5 separate regions of the Homo sapiens genome follow, and all the other regions are linked to region 4. Evidence: promoter capture Hi-C in human tissues and cell types (Jung and others, 2019). All regions are on one chromosome and are shown on one strand. The core of a region is centred on a gene start or on the middle of the fragment in contact, and the rest is flanking DNA. Distances in the headings are between cores, read along the strand shown.

Region 1 (2,872 bases), core at 70-2,569, 780 kb after region 4:
AAGAACAGGTATAAATTGCCAGAAATACTTACATTTGAAATTCAAAAGAGAATACTTATTTGCAAACAGTGTTTGGATACAGTTCCACATGCCCTTAGGCATACTTCTGAAATCCCCAGAAGTCTAAGTTGAACATATAATATTAATGTTTGATTATAAAAGTAAGAAACTGTCACAAATATCTTGGGAGTATGAATATAGTATTTGTTCCATTGTATAAAGGTGTATCTAAATCTGAACAGTTTTTAAATTCTGAGGCATATCTGGCTGCAAAGACATCCTATTGTTTTCCTGTCTCTGATCTGTAGTTCTGTGAAAGGTCACAGTTTGGAGGCTGGGATGGAAATTATGTCCAGGTTATGTCAAGAATTTTTTAAGGATAAACAGGAACATTGCCTGTCCTGATTCTTTCTGTTAAGTCTATGGCCTCTGGCACAGTGTTTAAGTTGGGTGTTCCTGTTAATAACCCTTTGGGCTTTATTCTTTCTCTGAAATGGAAAACCTGCTCTTTTTTCAGCTGGGGTGAAGAATGGGGCATGGGTGGCTACGTAAAGATGGCCAAAGACCGGAGAAACCATTGTGGAATTGCCTCAGCAGCCAGCTACCCCACTGTGTGAGCTGGTGGACGGTGATGAGGAAGGACTTGACTGGGGATGGCGCATGCATGGGAGGAATTCATCTTCAGTCTACCAGCCCCCGCTGTGTCGGATACACACTCGAATCATTGAAGATCCGAGTGTGATTTGAATTCTGTGATATTTTCACACTGGTAAATGTTACCTCTATTTTAATTACTGCTATAAATAGGTTTATATTATTGATTCACTTACTGACTTTGCATTTTCGTTTTTAAAAGGATGTATAAATTTTTACCTGTTTAAATAAAATTTAATTTCAAATGTAGTGGTGGGGCTTCTTTCTATTTTTGATGCACTGAATTTTTGTGTAATAAAGAACATAATTGGGCTCTAAGCCATAACTGCTGTGCCAGTGGCTCACTAGGAGGAAGAGTGGGTGGCCTTCTGGGTCTTCTAGTCACAGATGTACAGATCTCATGTCAGCTGCCCAGTGGCTATGTCTTAACCAATCCTTGATTGCAGCAAAATTTGAAAATGATCTATGAGGACAAAGGAAAATTGTTTGAATAAAGAAAAATATTCACTTTTTAGAAAAGTGAACATACATATATATAATTTTAATACTAGAAAAGGACTTTAGTGATCGTGTTTATTTCACCCAAAGTGGTTGCATCTCAGTCAAGTTACAGGGCAAAGGTCTCAGCCTGTTTCTGGAGCATCTTCGCCCACTGCTGGTGAAGGCCCTGTGGACACTTTGCAGTCAAGGTGGGTTAAGAACTAGTGCATTGCCAAGGCTGTTTGTTTTTGGGTCCTCAAGGGATGAGGAATAAACTTCAGGGTTTGAGGCTGGGGTTCAGAAGTGGTGCTCTGGCCTCAGAAAATAAAAGACAAGTGAGAGGCTAGAAATGACAATCTGTTGCCCTATTTAGAGCAAGCTACCTGAAAATACCTGATTTATTTTTTTTTAAATAGAAAAACTTCCCACATCGCACTAGCTAAACAGCCCATACTTCCATCACCTGTGTGTTTTCAGAAGTCTCTTGTTCCAACTGAAGGAAATATAAAGAACAGATGAGAATGTCCAATGAATAGACTCCATATCACAGAGGAGGGTAACCAGGTGTACAATGGAGTCTCAGCTTACAAAGCCCCCGGGAGGTTCTGTCCAAGTCCATCTCGATTGGACCACATGCCTTGCTGGACTCTCATGTGCCCTTCCCGAGTAGTTGCTAAAATTTCAAACTTTTTGACCTAAAATGGCAAATGTGGCATCTGTGAAATTCTTTGGGTATTGTAATAAAAGTCACCAGGGGTAGCAAGATTTGGGGAGGTTCCCAGGCTAAATCCCTCGTGCAGGTTGGGGCTTAGATTTGATAAACTGGAATTTATATACAACACCCACTACATGCTGGTCATCACCACTGTGGAAGAGACAGACCCTGACCTCAAGGAGCTGAACAGTTAGGGAGAGTGAGGTTAGCAGGGAGGGCTTCCAGGAAGAAGTTAAAGCAGATGGCTAGAGCAGCTAGTCAATAAGGGAAGATGAAGAGGTGAGCATCTTAGCAGAGACTAGCACATCAGCAACCCTGAGAAAAGACCCTGTGGTTACAGACCCAGTAAAAGTCACTGGGTCCAGGTGTTGGGAGATGAAGCTGGTCAAGAGGTAGATTTTCAGGATAAAGGAGCCACTGGGAGTGCAGTGAACAGACTGTTTTGGTTCTGTTACTGTAAAACAAACCACCCAGAAACCCAATGGCTGGGAAGGAACATCTTTCACATGATTCTGCCTGGACTTGGCTGTGTGGTTTTCACGTGGAGGTCTATATCTGTGCTTGAGACATCTGCAGGTTTGAGTGAACTGGACATCTGCAAAGGCTCACTCACATGGCTGGCTGCAGATGCTGGTGCTGGCTGGACGTTCAACTTGGGCTATTGACCAGAGCACCTGCCCGGGGCCTCCCCATGGCTTGGGCTTCCCACAGCATTGATACTGGGGGAAATACATATATAGTGCAATTCAGTGTTTTAAGTTTGCCAACTTGGAAGGTGTATATATACAGCTTTAAACCCTGAATTTCACAAATGTTCATGATTATCTCTTTGTTAATAAGTTAATAAGAAAAATAATTTCCAGGAGACTTGGTCTCTTTTCTCCAGTAATACAGCTTAAACATTCCATAATTCACATGTTTAAGATTGTTTTATTTACACTTTCAACAAGTATTCATTGGGCACCATTTATGAGGCAGTGCTGTGCTGCCAACACAAAAGTGAAGCAAATACTCATGACCCCT
Region 2 (2,700 bases), core at 158-2,657, 570 kb after region 4:
GCTGGGATTACAGGTGTGTGCCACCATGCCCAGCTAATTTTTGTATTTTTAGTAGACACAGGGTTTCACCATGTTGACCAGGCTGGTCTCGAACTCCTGACCTCAGAGGCTGGTGATCCACCCACCTCAGCCTCCCAAAGTGCTGGGATTACAGACATGAGCCACCATGCCTGGCCGAGAGGCTGCTTTCTTTTAAAGAATTATTTCTTGTTCTTTGGGCTTGTTGGGTGGGTATCTTTAGTTTGTAAAAGTAACATAACACTGACAAAATCTGAAAAGGAAAATACTTGGAAATTGGGTCTATAAGGTGAATTTAGGTAAAACATCAAGAGAACTAACAAATAGACAACAAATAAGCTATAAACAGGTACCATAAATAGGCTGTTAAACGAAACTGTCATTTGAACCGTAATATTTGCCCATCATTTATTCATTCCTCAAGGGCTAATTGAATATCTGAATGATCTTGCTGCAGTGTTGGGCAGGGCCCTCTATCTCAGCAAGCTTCTAGTCATGTAGGATAGACAGACTTTTGCACAACCAACAGTATTGGAAAGCCTAAATAGGAAGTGAGATGAAGCATGGAAAAATGTTTTTTGGAGTTCAGCCAAGGAGAGCGTTTTGACTTGGAGGTTTCATTCCTTCATTCAGATTCTTGTGGACGACGTAAAAATGTAAGCAGGTGGGTGCAAGTGTGGGTATGTATGTATGTCTCTACCCTTGCCTTCCTTGGAGAAAACTGGAAATAAGACATGAAAGAAATGGGGACAAGGAAACTAAGATTTGCTAGGAACTCTAGACCAGCAGCTGGAGGTAGGTATTGTAATTCACATTTGAAAACCGAGGTTCAGAAAGATGATTGGCCTTGAATAGTGTTTTAAAATGCTGGAAGCAGTAGTTGGACTCCCAAGCTGCTAAGCCATGTCTGGAAATTGGGTGGTGGGTGGTGCAGCTCATTTTGTGTCCTGTTCTACTGTCACTGTCTTGGAAGGGAAGTTTAAAGAAGTTTTAAATGTCTAGCACAGTGCTGGCTCATACGATGTGTTCAATGCCTGTTTTTCGCCTTGCTTCCTCTAAACCAGGTGTTCTCAACCTCGGCATTAGTGACAGCCTGTTCTGGATAGTTTTCTGTTGTGGGGGCTGTCTTGTGCATTGTATTTTAGGATAGGATATTTATAATAGGATGTTTAGCAGCATCCATGGACTCTACCCACTGGATGCCAGTAACAGCCACCTCCTCACACTCTTTATGACAGCCAAAAATGTCTCCAGACATTGCTAAATGTGTGAGGGGGCGCAAAATTCCCCCACCCTCTGTAGAGAACCACAGGACTACAAGATCAAGAGAGATCAGTCTTGACTGATGTGCTTAGGAGGCTAGAGCTGGTGTAGGGAAGGAGGAGCCTGCACCTAGTGGGCAAAGAAAACACCCCTGTGGAATGAGATGAGAGAAGATATTGACCTTGGGTGTCCAGAGCTGGTGAGGGGAGAGAAAAGGCTGCCAGATGGTCTGAGCGTGAGGTCTAGGGCAGTTGCTGTTGTACTTTGATTTGTATGGACTGTCCCAGGAGTGCGTAGTTTCCTGTGTCCCAGAGGTCTGGGCTGAGACAGACAATGGGTATGACCTGGAGAACCTGCTGGTGAGGCTTGTGGGTGTCAGAGCCCTGTTGAATCACTTTTCCCTCTCCATTCAAATAGCCACTGCAATTCCATACCTATTTGTATAATTACTTTCAAATGTCATTCTCTTCCTTAAGACTGGAAGCTCCCATGATCTAGGTCTGTGACTTGTTTTCTGGTTATTGAATTGAGCACAAGAACCAGCCCCAAATTGAACATTTAAGTGAGTGACATGAATGAATGATGGAAGGAGGGTTCGCATTAATTGTTGGATTGAACAAAGCCCGACACGATTAAATGTAACAGATACAAAGATGAAGCCAGACAATTAAGTTGGAGAGAAAAAGCAATTGCTCAAATTCAGCAGCAGGGAGACTTGTCATGACAGTGTCCTTTTGGAGAAGAGTCTGAGAGCTTTGATAATTACAAATGTCTATGGAACCCATATCCTCGTGACTGCATTAAGAAGAAAATACAGCTTTTGTCTATACCATAGAAATTGAATGTCTGCAATGGGAGTTGCTGGTTTCTCTGTTTTCTCTGTTTTTGCTGAGGTCATTCTGCATCTGGGACATGAGAGTGTTCTGTTCTGGGAGAGACACTGACAAACTTGGGGGAGTCCAAAGAAGGCAAAAGCTGGAGAACCCGAGTATCTCATGAATAATGTATTTTACTTAGCTATGGAGTCAAGCACCATGTGCATCTTTTTGTAAATATTACTGCATGTAATTCCTCAAACTAGCCTCTTATGGGGATCCTCTATTTCAGAGCTTGGCAGACATTTTATGTAAAGATAGTAAATATGGTAAGCTTCGTGGGCCACATGGTTTCTGTTGCAACAACTCAACTCTGTTTTAACTCAAAAGCAGCCACAGACATTATGTGTCCAAAAGGGTGTGGCTGTGTTCTAATAAAAACAGGCAATGGTCTGGATTTACCCTGTGGGCCATGATTTGCTAAGCCCTGCTCTGTTTTATTGATGAATAAACAAAGGCTTAAAGAGATTAAATAATTTAATATGCTGAAATGAGTAAGTGGCAGAACTGAAATTGAGCTCTGAGCCTCTCTGGCTCTGAAGCC
Region 3 (2,788 bases), core at 230-2,729, 520 kb after region 4:
CCAAGATAACCATCCTTATCTTTTATTTAACAATACACAGGCCTGATGCAAATCAGCTCATGCAAATCACACCTTCAAGACCTGCCCCCAGCTCACTGGACGGGTCTAGACCAGTGCGAATGAGCTCAAATAAGGATCTTGGCTACATGCATTTCCCTTGTCATTTTATACTCCAAAGCAAAAACCTGTTTTGGAAGAATGAAACCAGTTTGCATGGTGCTAAAAAAAGTTTAACACCTGGCTGCCCTAAAAATTTTCAGGTCAAGTTCACCGTGAAGGGAATGCAAAATGCAACACATAAACATAGCTCTGAAAACCAACGAAGACACAAAAACCAAACAATGAAAATATTGTCCCTTCCTCTGGTTTAAATATGTCATTTCCATAAGACCAGATCAAGTCGCTGTTGGACAACTTTTTAAAAGATAGCAACAGTTTAAGCTTAATTTCATTTTAATTTTTCAAAGTGAACTTTAAAAAACACCTTATGTGACTTCCATGAATACACTGAAACACCGTGTTACAGAGCAGCTAAAATAGGAGACCTGGCTCCATTTCGATAATAAATGGTTGGGCTCACTAATGCGCTCAGATCGATGTCAAGCATGGGGGATTATCTACATAAACACACAAACTTTAGCACCTCTAAATTTGACTACTCAGACATAAATGTGACTGGTCTAAGAGAAGATCAATGTTTATAGCCTTAAAGTCACTCAATATTTAATTTAAATGCAAGCTGGTTTATGCCTGAAGCCAATGCCTGACATTTTAGATTTTTTTTTTTTTTTCTTTTTTTTGAGACGGAGTCTGGCTCTGTCATGCAGTGGCATGATCTCGGCTCACTGCAACCTCTGCCTTCTGAGTTCAAGCAGTTCTCCTGCCTCAGCCTCCCTAGTAGCTGGGATTACAGGCGTGTGCCGCCACACCCGGCTAATTTTTGTATTTTTAGTAGAGATGGGTTTTTACCATGTTGGCCAAGATAGTCTCAAATTCCTGACCTCGAGTGATCCGCCTACCTTGGCCTCCCAAAGTGCTGGGATTACAGGCAGTAGCCACCGTGCCCAGCCGGGATTTTTTTTTTCTTTTCTATTCCTAACAGCCCAAACCCAGCAAAAAGCATCATGCATTTGCACTCAGGTGCTGAGTAGGTTTCAGGACCTCAACAGGCCCACCTGACCTGGTCCAGGAATGACAGTAGTCAGGCCCCCCTGCCGTACATTTGGCCTAGTCTTCAAAAGCCTGCTCACTGGCCACACCAATTTCCTAAGGGTTTTTCTAAACAAAAATTTCAGATAAACCTAGATCCAACTTCTATATTGTTTCTTTAATTGGCTTTTGTTTTACGATCTTTATTTCAAATGTAATGCACTCTTGGGAAAGAAAAGTCAGAAAACAGAGATGAGCAGAAATGTCAGAGGCATTCGAACCACAGCAACTCCATCTTGACTAGGGACTGGGTAAAAGGAGGCTGAAACCTACTGGGCTGCATTTCCAGGAGGTTAGGCCTTCTTAGTCATAGGATGAGATAGAAGATCAGCATAAGATACAGGTCACAAACACCTTGCTGATAAAACAGGTTGCAGTAAAGAAGCAGGCCAAAAGGCCGACGTGGTGGCTCATGCCTGGAATCCCAGCGCTTTGGGAGTCTGAGGCAAGAGAATCACTGAGGTTGGGAGTTCGAGACCAGCCTGGCCAATATGGTGAAACCCAGTCTCTACTAAAAATACAAAAATTAACCTGGCATGGTGGCACACATCTGTAATCCCAGCTACTTGGGAGGCTGAGGCACAAGAATCGCTTGAACCTGGAAGGTGGAGGTTGCAGTGAGCCAAGATTGTCCCACTGTACTCCAACCTGGGGGACGGAGCGAGACTTGGTCTCAAAAAAAAAAAAAAAAAAAAAAAAAAAAGAAGCAGGCCAAAACCCACCAAAACCAACATGGCCACAAAAGTGACTTCTGGTCATTCTCACTGCTCATTAGATGTTAATTATAATGCATTAGGATGCTAAAAGACACTCCCACCAGCACCATGGCAGTTTACAAATGGTCTATATGGTCTAAAAAGGGGAGGAACCCTCAGTTCCAGAACTGCCCAATCCTTCCCTGGAAAACTCATGAGTAATCCATTCCTTGTTTAGCATATGATCAAGAAGCAACTCTGAGTATACTCATTTGAGCACCCCATGCTTCTGCTCTGCTTATGAAGTAGCCATTCTTTTCCTTTACTTTCTTAATAAACTTACTTTGGCTTTGCTCTCTGGAGTCACCCCAAATTCTTTCTTGTGTGAAGTCCGAGAACACTCTCTTGGGGTCTGGATTGGGACCCCTTTCCAGTAACAGAATGAATGTAAAGAATATTCATAATAGGCCAGGCGCGGTGGCTCACGCCTGTAATCCCAGCACTTTGGGAGGTCGAGGTGGGTGGATCACAAGGTCAGGAGATTGAGATCATCCTGGCTAACACGGTGAAACCCCGTCTCTACTAAAAATACAAAAAATTAGCCGGGCGCGGTGGCAGTCACCTGTAGTCCCAGCTACTCAGGAGGCTGAGGCAGGAGAATGGCCTGAACCCGGGAGGCGGAGCTTGCAGTGAGCCAAGATTGCACCATTGCACTCCAGCCTGGGCGACAGAGCAAGACTCCATCTCAAAAAAAAAAAAAAAAAGAATATTCATCATCACTTCTTGTGGGATGGAAAATGTGTCCATTCCTTCAAGAGTCTTCCTTCTGGCACCCCCTACATATAATGATATTTTACAAAACTAAACAGGATGTGTTGTTTTAT
Region 4 (2,700 bases), core at 190-2,689:
TTCTCCTTGACCGACTCGCAGATGGGCCGCTCGAGGCCGTCGCACACGCAGTCGTTGAGCAGCGCCGCCTTGGGCATAGCCAGCATGTCCTCAATGACGGTGCGGCATTCGTCCGTGCAGCGCAGCCCGTTGAAGACTTTGCCGCAGTAGGTCAGGTAGCGGCTCAGCGCCAGGTTGCAGCGGCTGTCGCGGTCGCAGCGCCGCCGGGCCTCGGTGCAGCCCATGACCCCGCCCGCGCCGGGGCCGCCCGCGCCGCCGCCGCTCGTCCGGGGCAGGCACGGCTCAATGGCGCGCTTGGTGGACTTGCAGTTCTCGTCCTGCGCGCAGTCACAGTCCTCCAGGGCGGGCCCGCGGCGCGTGTGGTTGAGCTGAATGAGGGCCGAGATGCAGTGACTCGGGCAGCGCCAGCGCGACGAGAAAGAGGCGGCCGAGGCCGGGAAAGCGGCGGCGGCGGCCCCGGGCGCGTCGCCCCCGCCGTGCTGCGCCAGCACCGGCGCGCACGCCTCGGCGTACTGGTTGTAGGCGTAGCTGCACTCCGGCTCCCCCTGGCACTGCAGCAGCGCCTGCCAGCAGATGAGGCGGCGGCCGTGCGCCAGCCCCGATCCCCGCGGCGCCGAGCCCAGCAGCTGCAGCAGCGCCATCAGGCACAGCCAGGCGCCCGGCACTGTCCCCCCGCGGGCCTCGCCGCCGCCGCCCAGCAGCGCGGCCACCATCGCGGGCAGCGGCGGCCGCCGGGAGAGGAGGGGAAAGGAGACGAGGCGCGGGGAGCGGCGGACGCGGAGCCGGTGGAAAAGTTTGTCCAAGTCCTGCCCACTTCTTGCATGAGTGTCTTCATAAATCCATGCGCGCCGCTGGCTGATGCCCCGCTGGTGGCAGAAGGTCCCCTTTCGCTCTGGCTGCGGTGGCTTCCTGGAAATGAACAGCTGTCGAGATCTGGTCCCGCTCTCCCACCCGAGAGCCCTCCGCTCGGCCCCCGGTGGTGGCGGGAGAGGCTCACTGTCGCCCCGGGGGGGTGCGGGCCGCGGGGCCGTGGCGGGGCTGCAGGACCGCGCGGCGCGGCGGGTGCATTTTGCTCCGCGCCTGCAGATCCGTTGTGCGGCCGGCTGTCCCCGTGCCGGCTGCTCGCGCTGCGGCCGCGGCGGCTCCTTCCTCCTGGGCTCAGTGCCTCGCCGCCGCCACCGCCGCCGCGGTCTCTCGCATCGCGCCGCTTCCTGGCCCGGCGTCCGCGCGCTGCCCGCCTTCCCGCGGCCCGGCCGCCCCGCGTCCCCTCCCCCTCCGCCCGCGGCAACCCCGGCCTCCGCAGAGCTCCGGGGAGCTCTTTCCGGGAAGCGCGGGGAGAACAAGAAAGTCGGCGCTGCCGGAGAGCGGCTCCCTGGCTTCACTCGGCGGCAGCTTCTCGGGTGACCAAGAGCCCGGGGAGCGGATCCGCTGAGCCCGGCTGCAGACTCGTTAGCAGCGAGGCTTTAAATACAAAAGTGGGCCGGGAGCCCCCGCGTGGTGCCGCGGTGCCCCCTCATTATGCATGCATGGAAAAGCAAACAAACAAAAACATTAGCAACGCTCCTCCGGCTCGCCGAGCCCCGGCCCCGCGCGCTCCGAGCCTGCCCGCTTTCTCCTTTCTCCACTCTCTTTCGCCCTTTGCTCGGCCCCCTTTCCCGGCTTTTCGAGATGCTATTGGTCCTGCCTGTTGTTGTTGAAAGTTTTTTTTTTTTTTTTTACGAGCCGCTGGAGTGGGGTTGCGGAGTGGGGGAGGGCGGGAGGGTGGTGGGCAGCTCACATTCAGGCATTCAGGGCTTGAAAGGAACGGCTTAGGGAGCCTGACGGAGGCCCGGAGCTCCTCCTACTCTTAAGGAGGCTCGGATATGCAGCCCCAGCTCGCGCACAGAACCAGCGGGCAGGGCTTAGGGGCAGCTGTTTGCATCCGGCTCAGCCACGGGCCTTTTTTGTTTGTTTTTTTTTTCTTTTTTTTTTTTTTTGTAGTTTTATTAATTCTCGCTGGCCCCCATCTGTGCTTTCGACTGGATTCAGAACTCAGTTTATCTTCCAGGCTCCCTGTCTTTGGGTCTTGATCACCACAGAGGGGAAGGGGAGAATCCAGAGATAAAATGTGAGACTGAAACTGTTTTAAAGAAGCATACAAGAAAGAAGCACACACTTTATTAGGGAGATGTTGATGAGATGCTTACAACCCGCCCGCCACCCCCCAGCCCCAGCTAGGCCATCTGGCAGGTACCGCCCGTGCGCCAGGCATCGTTTTCAAATTGCAAGACCGAAATCCAATCAACCGAAATAATTTCTTAGGAAGATAAGCTTGCAACACGTGCAATAATGAAAAAATTTAACTAGCATTAAAAATATTCAGGAATGTCGAGCAATTACCACCTGGCCGCAGTCACAGGACAGAAGACGGAATAAATGGGCACGCACCAAAGGTTTATATTAAAGTGTAAGTTTCAGCCCCTCAGTATATTTAAGGGAGGCTGCTCTGCAGAGGAAACCTCTGCCTTCTCGGCGAGGGAGTTTCCGAGCTACCTTAACTGGGGCGCAACGCAGCCTTCCGCCACCAGAGGCAGCGGGCGTCTGCGGCCTGTCAAAAACTGGCGCTTTTTTCCTCCCCTTTCCGTGGAGAGACTATCAACTCCATCTGTCACAAAAATTAAGGCTAAATCTCCTCTCCAGAAGCAGAGGGAGCCGGGGCTC
Region 5 (2,700 bases), core at 188-2,687, 720 kb after region 4:
TCCTTTTGCTTCCTTGTTATCTTTCCACCCAAGCCCCAGCTGCTGCCCCTAAGCCTCTTTCACTGGATATCCCCAGGACTGGGCACCCTTGGCACGCCCTGACAATCCTGCCTGGGCTGAGAAAGTCCCCGCGTCCTGCTTCTCCCTAGGCCTCTGCTTCCTGCTGGTCCATCTTCTCCCTCTCCATCCCCCTGGCCCTCTCTGGCCCCCAGACTTGCAGCTGTCCAACACTGAGGCCCATGCTCAGGTCTCTGGTCCCTGCTTGCCCCTGAGTGCCAGCCTCACACAGCACCTTCAGAGGCCCTCGGCCCCCCCACACCAGGGTCCCTCCCTCCAGTTCTGTGCTTCCTCCTCCCCAGTGTTCAGCCTCTGCAAAGGGCTTCCGCATCTGTCTGTCACTCTGCCCAGGATCATGGAAACCCTTCTTACTCTCTCCTCACCTATTTGCATCTAGCCGGCAGCCTACTAAGTCTCCTCCCACTTCTCCATGACCACGAAGCACCCGCCTCTCCAGCCCCCACCTGGTTAAGGGCGTCACCCTTAACCTTAGTCTCCTCCAGACCAGTCGGACTCTTCACCCACCCCTGCACTGTAGCCTCCTGCCCCTTGGGACCAGTCCATCCCAGCCCCACGTTTATCTTTCTAGAAATGCCAGCCACTCAGTGGGCTCCACTTTCACCTCCACCTGGGGCTCCTCTGCCTTCAGGATGTGAACTCTGCAGCCTCTGCCCAGCCTCCCCTTCCCCTCTTCTCCCCTTCAGTTGTGGCTGGGTCCTGGGAAGCCCCTGCCGGCTCCCCCATCATGGAGTTGTCACCTGCTGTTCTTTCACCCTGGAGCTCCCCTTTCCCCCTTCACCCCCTGCGCATAGTGTGCCCACAGCATCAGCACACACAGGCACACATCTCTCTGCCCACTTCTGCCCTGAGGGTACCTGATGGCGCTCTGCCTTCAGAGAGAGACTTGGAATGCCCGCTACGGGCATGTGGGCACACAGCCCATAACATTCGGGGAAGACTCCGTGGCACCCACTCCTCCTCATCCATCAACATTCACCTCCAGCCCAGGAAACCTCCTCTGTTCCAGCCTCTCCGGTGTGTGTGATTTGCCCCTGTGGGCTGGTAGTCCCTTCGCCTTCCTTGCTCTATTGGAATCGTATCCGGATTTCTCCTAGCAGGAGTGAGCCCTTGGGCAGGAATCACTGGGAATTCATTGCTGCCTCCTAAGTGGGCTCCCTGCTTCCACCCTTACCTGTCCACAGCCTGGTCCCCACGCAGCCGCCTGGTCAGACGTAAGTGAGATCTCATCCTCCTTGCTCAGATGCTCTAGCAACTTCTCATGGGAATCAGAGCCCTTCAAATGGGGGCTTCCCCAAGGATCTGCCCCTGACATTGCCTCCCTGACCCCCATCTCCTGTTCCGCCTCCTCCCGTCTCCCTCCACATCAGCCCCATGAGCTTCCTTGATGTTCTTCAAAAGTGCTGGCCATCCACCGCCCGGGGGCCTTTGCACTTGCTATTCTTGGGCCTGAGTGGCTCTTCCCCAGGTATCCATGTGATTTGGTCTCTCACCTTCTGCAGGTTTTGACTCGAGCTTCACCTTCTCAGGGAGGCCTTTCTGGACCACCCTATTTTAAATCCTATCCCTCCCCCACCCCCAGGACTGCCCCTCATCTCCCCTGCCCCATTTTTCTTCATAGCACCTATCACCACCTGACCTACTGTATTTTACTCACCTATTTGTTTCTTGTTGGCTCTCCCCACTAGATTCTGGATCCCATGAAAATAGGGACTTTTGTTGGTTTTATTCACTGCTGTATCCATAGCCCTGTGCATAATACGCACTCAGTAAATACCTGCTAGATGAAAGTATGAAGGAAGGAAGGAAAAAATGAATGGCACCATAGTCCAGGCAGGACATGGAGTGTTTGTTGACCGAGTGCTAAGTAGATGAGCCCTTATAATTCTGTAGGTTAACAAAAAATCCATATTTTCCCCAACACTATCTAAAGATGTTTAAATGACTGTGCACATTCTTTCAGATCATCTTTTCACTGGGGATACACAAATAGGTTTCCCTGTCAATGCTTGCCCCAGTTGAAACCCCATCTGTTCCTTTGCGAAGCATATTACACGTGTCACTAGAAGTCATGACTGTGAGCATTTCCCCAGACGTCAATAAGCAGCATGTCTGTGAAGGGCAGGCTCCTAAAACTGGCTGGCCTGTGGGGCTCCGGCTTCTTGAACACAATAAGTGAAGTGGCCTTTCACCTTTCCATGGATTTCTTTCTATGTCATGGGGCCAACTTGGGAATCACTGCCCACAGTCTAGAATGTAGTGTTGTGGGCTGCTGGTGCACAAGAGACACCGTGATTTCTGGACCCAACTCACCCTTCTGCAGCCACTTGGTCCCCAGGGCTCACGTTGAGATGATGGACAGCTGAGTGCTGAGACACTTGGCCATCTTTCTATATCTTTTCAATGCATGCACTTCATTGAGTCCATGAGCCCTGTTGGTAAGGAGGAGGGCAGCAAGTGTAAGTGTTGCTTTTGCAGCCTCCGTCGGGGTGTCCAGTAGAGCCAAGACCAAAATGCAGAGATCTGACTTCTGCCCCTTTCCCTCTCAGACAGAAGGCCAGGTAGTTAGGGCAATTCTCAGCTCTTCTGTGAATAATTTCCAACACTGCTTGCTTCTTCTGTGCC

What was found. Contacts are between HindIII fragments. The study calls those that stand out against the background at their distance.
Region 1: a fragment that was not itself captured here is called in contact with the fragment with the promoter of GAS1 in region 4 in 1 of the 25 tissues and cell types used here (mesenchymal stem cells).
Region 2: a contact is called between a fragment that was not itself captured here and the fragment with the promoter of GAS1 in region 4, in 1 of the 25 tissues and cell types used here (dorsolateral prefrontal cortex).
Region 3: a contact is called between a fragment that was not itself captured here and the fragment with the promoter of GAS1 in region 4, in 1 of the 25 tissues and cell types used here (H1 embryonic stem cells).
Region 5: a contact is called between a fragment that was not itself captured here and the fragment with the promoter of GAS1 in region 4, in 2 of the 25 tissues and cell types used here (H1 embryonic stem cells and lymphoblastoid cells).

The regions. Positions count from the first base shown.
Region 1 is chr9:87,730,491-87,733,362 of GRCh38, forward strand. CTSL (cathepsin L) reads left to right here. Exons shown (of 8, transcript NM_001912.5): 7 at 1-8; 8 at 518-979. The coding sequence ends at 617. Among named protein-coding and RNA genes, the nearest start is that of CTSL, 5.8 kb to the left of the region's middle. RefSeq lists a silencer at 618-2,117. The HindIII fragment of the contact is 6,197 bases long and covers 1-2,872 here.
Region 2 is chr9:87,512,771-87,515,470 of GRCh38, forward strand. All of the region lies in intron 2 of DAPK1 (death associated protein kinase 1), which reads left to right. Among named protein-coding and RNA genes, the nearest start is that of DAPK1, 16 kb to the left of the region's middle. The HindIII fragment of the contact is 3,649 bases long and covers 1-2,700 here.
Region 3 is chr9:87,465,898-87,468,685 of GRCh38, forward strand. No RefSeq gene overlaps it. Among named protein-coding and RNA genes, the nearest start is that of DAPK1, 31 kb to the right of the region's middle. RefSeq lists an enhancer at 1-39. The HindIII fragment of the contact is 3,393 bases long and covers 1-2,788 here.
Region 4 is chr9:86,946,067-86,948,766 of GRCh38, forward strand. It overlaps GAS1 (growth arrest specific 1), which reads right to left and starts at 1,440. Exons shown (of 1, transcript NM_002048.3): 1 at 1-1,440. The coding sequence starts at 713. It overlaps GAS1RR (GAS1 adjacent regulatory RNA), which reads left to right and starts at 2,632. Exons shown (of 7, transcript NR_049794.1): 1 at 2,632-2,700. RefSeq lists silencers at 431-500, 571-650. The HindIII fragment of the contact is 5,107 bases long and covers 1-2,700 here.
Region 5 is chr9:87,663,458-87,666,157 of GRCh38, forward strand. All of the region lies in intron 18 of DAPK1 (death associated protein kinase 1), which reads left to right. Among named protein-coding and RNA genes, the nearest start is that of CTSL, 61 kb to the right of the region's middle. The HindIII fragment of the contact is 5,074 bases long and covers 1-2,700 here.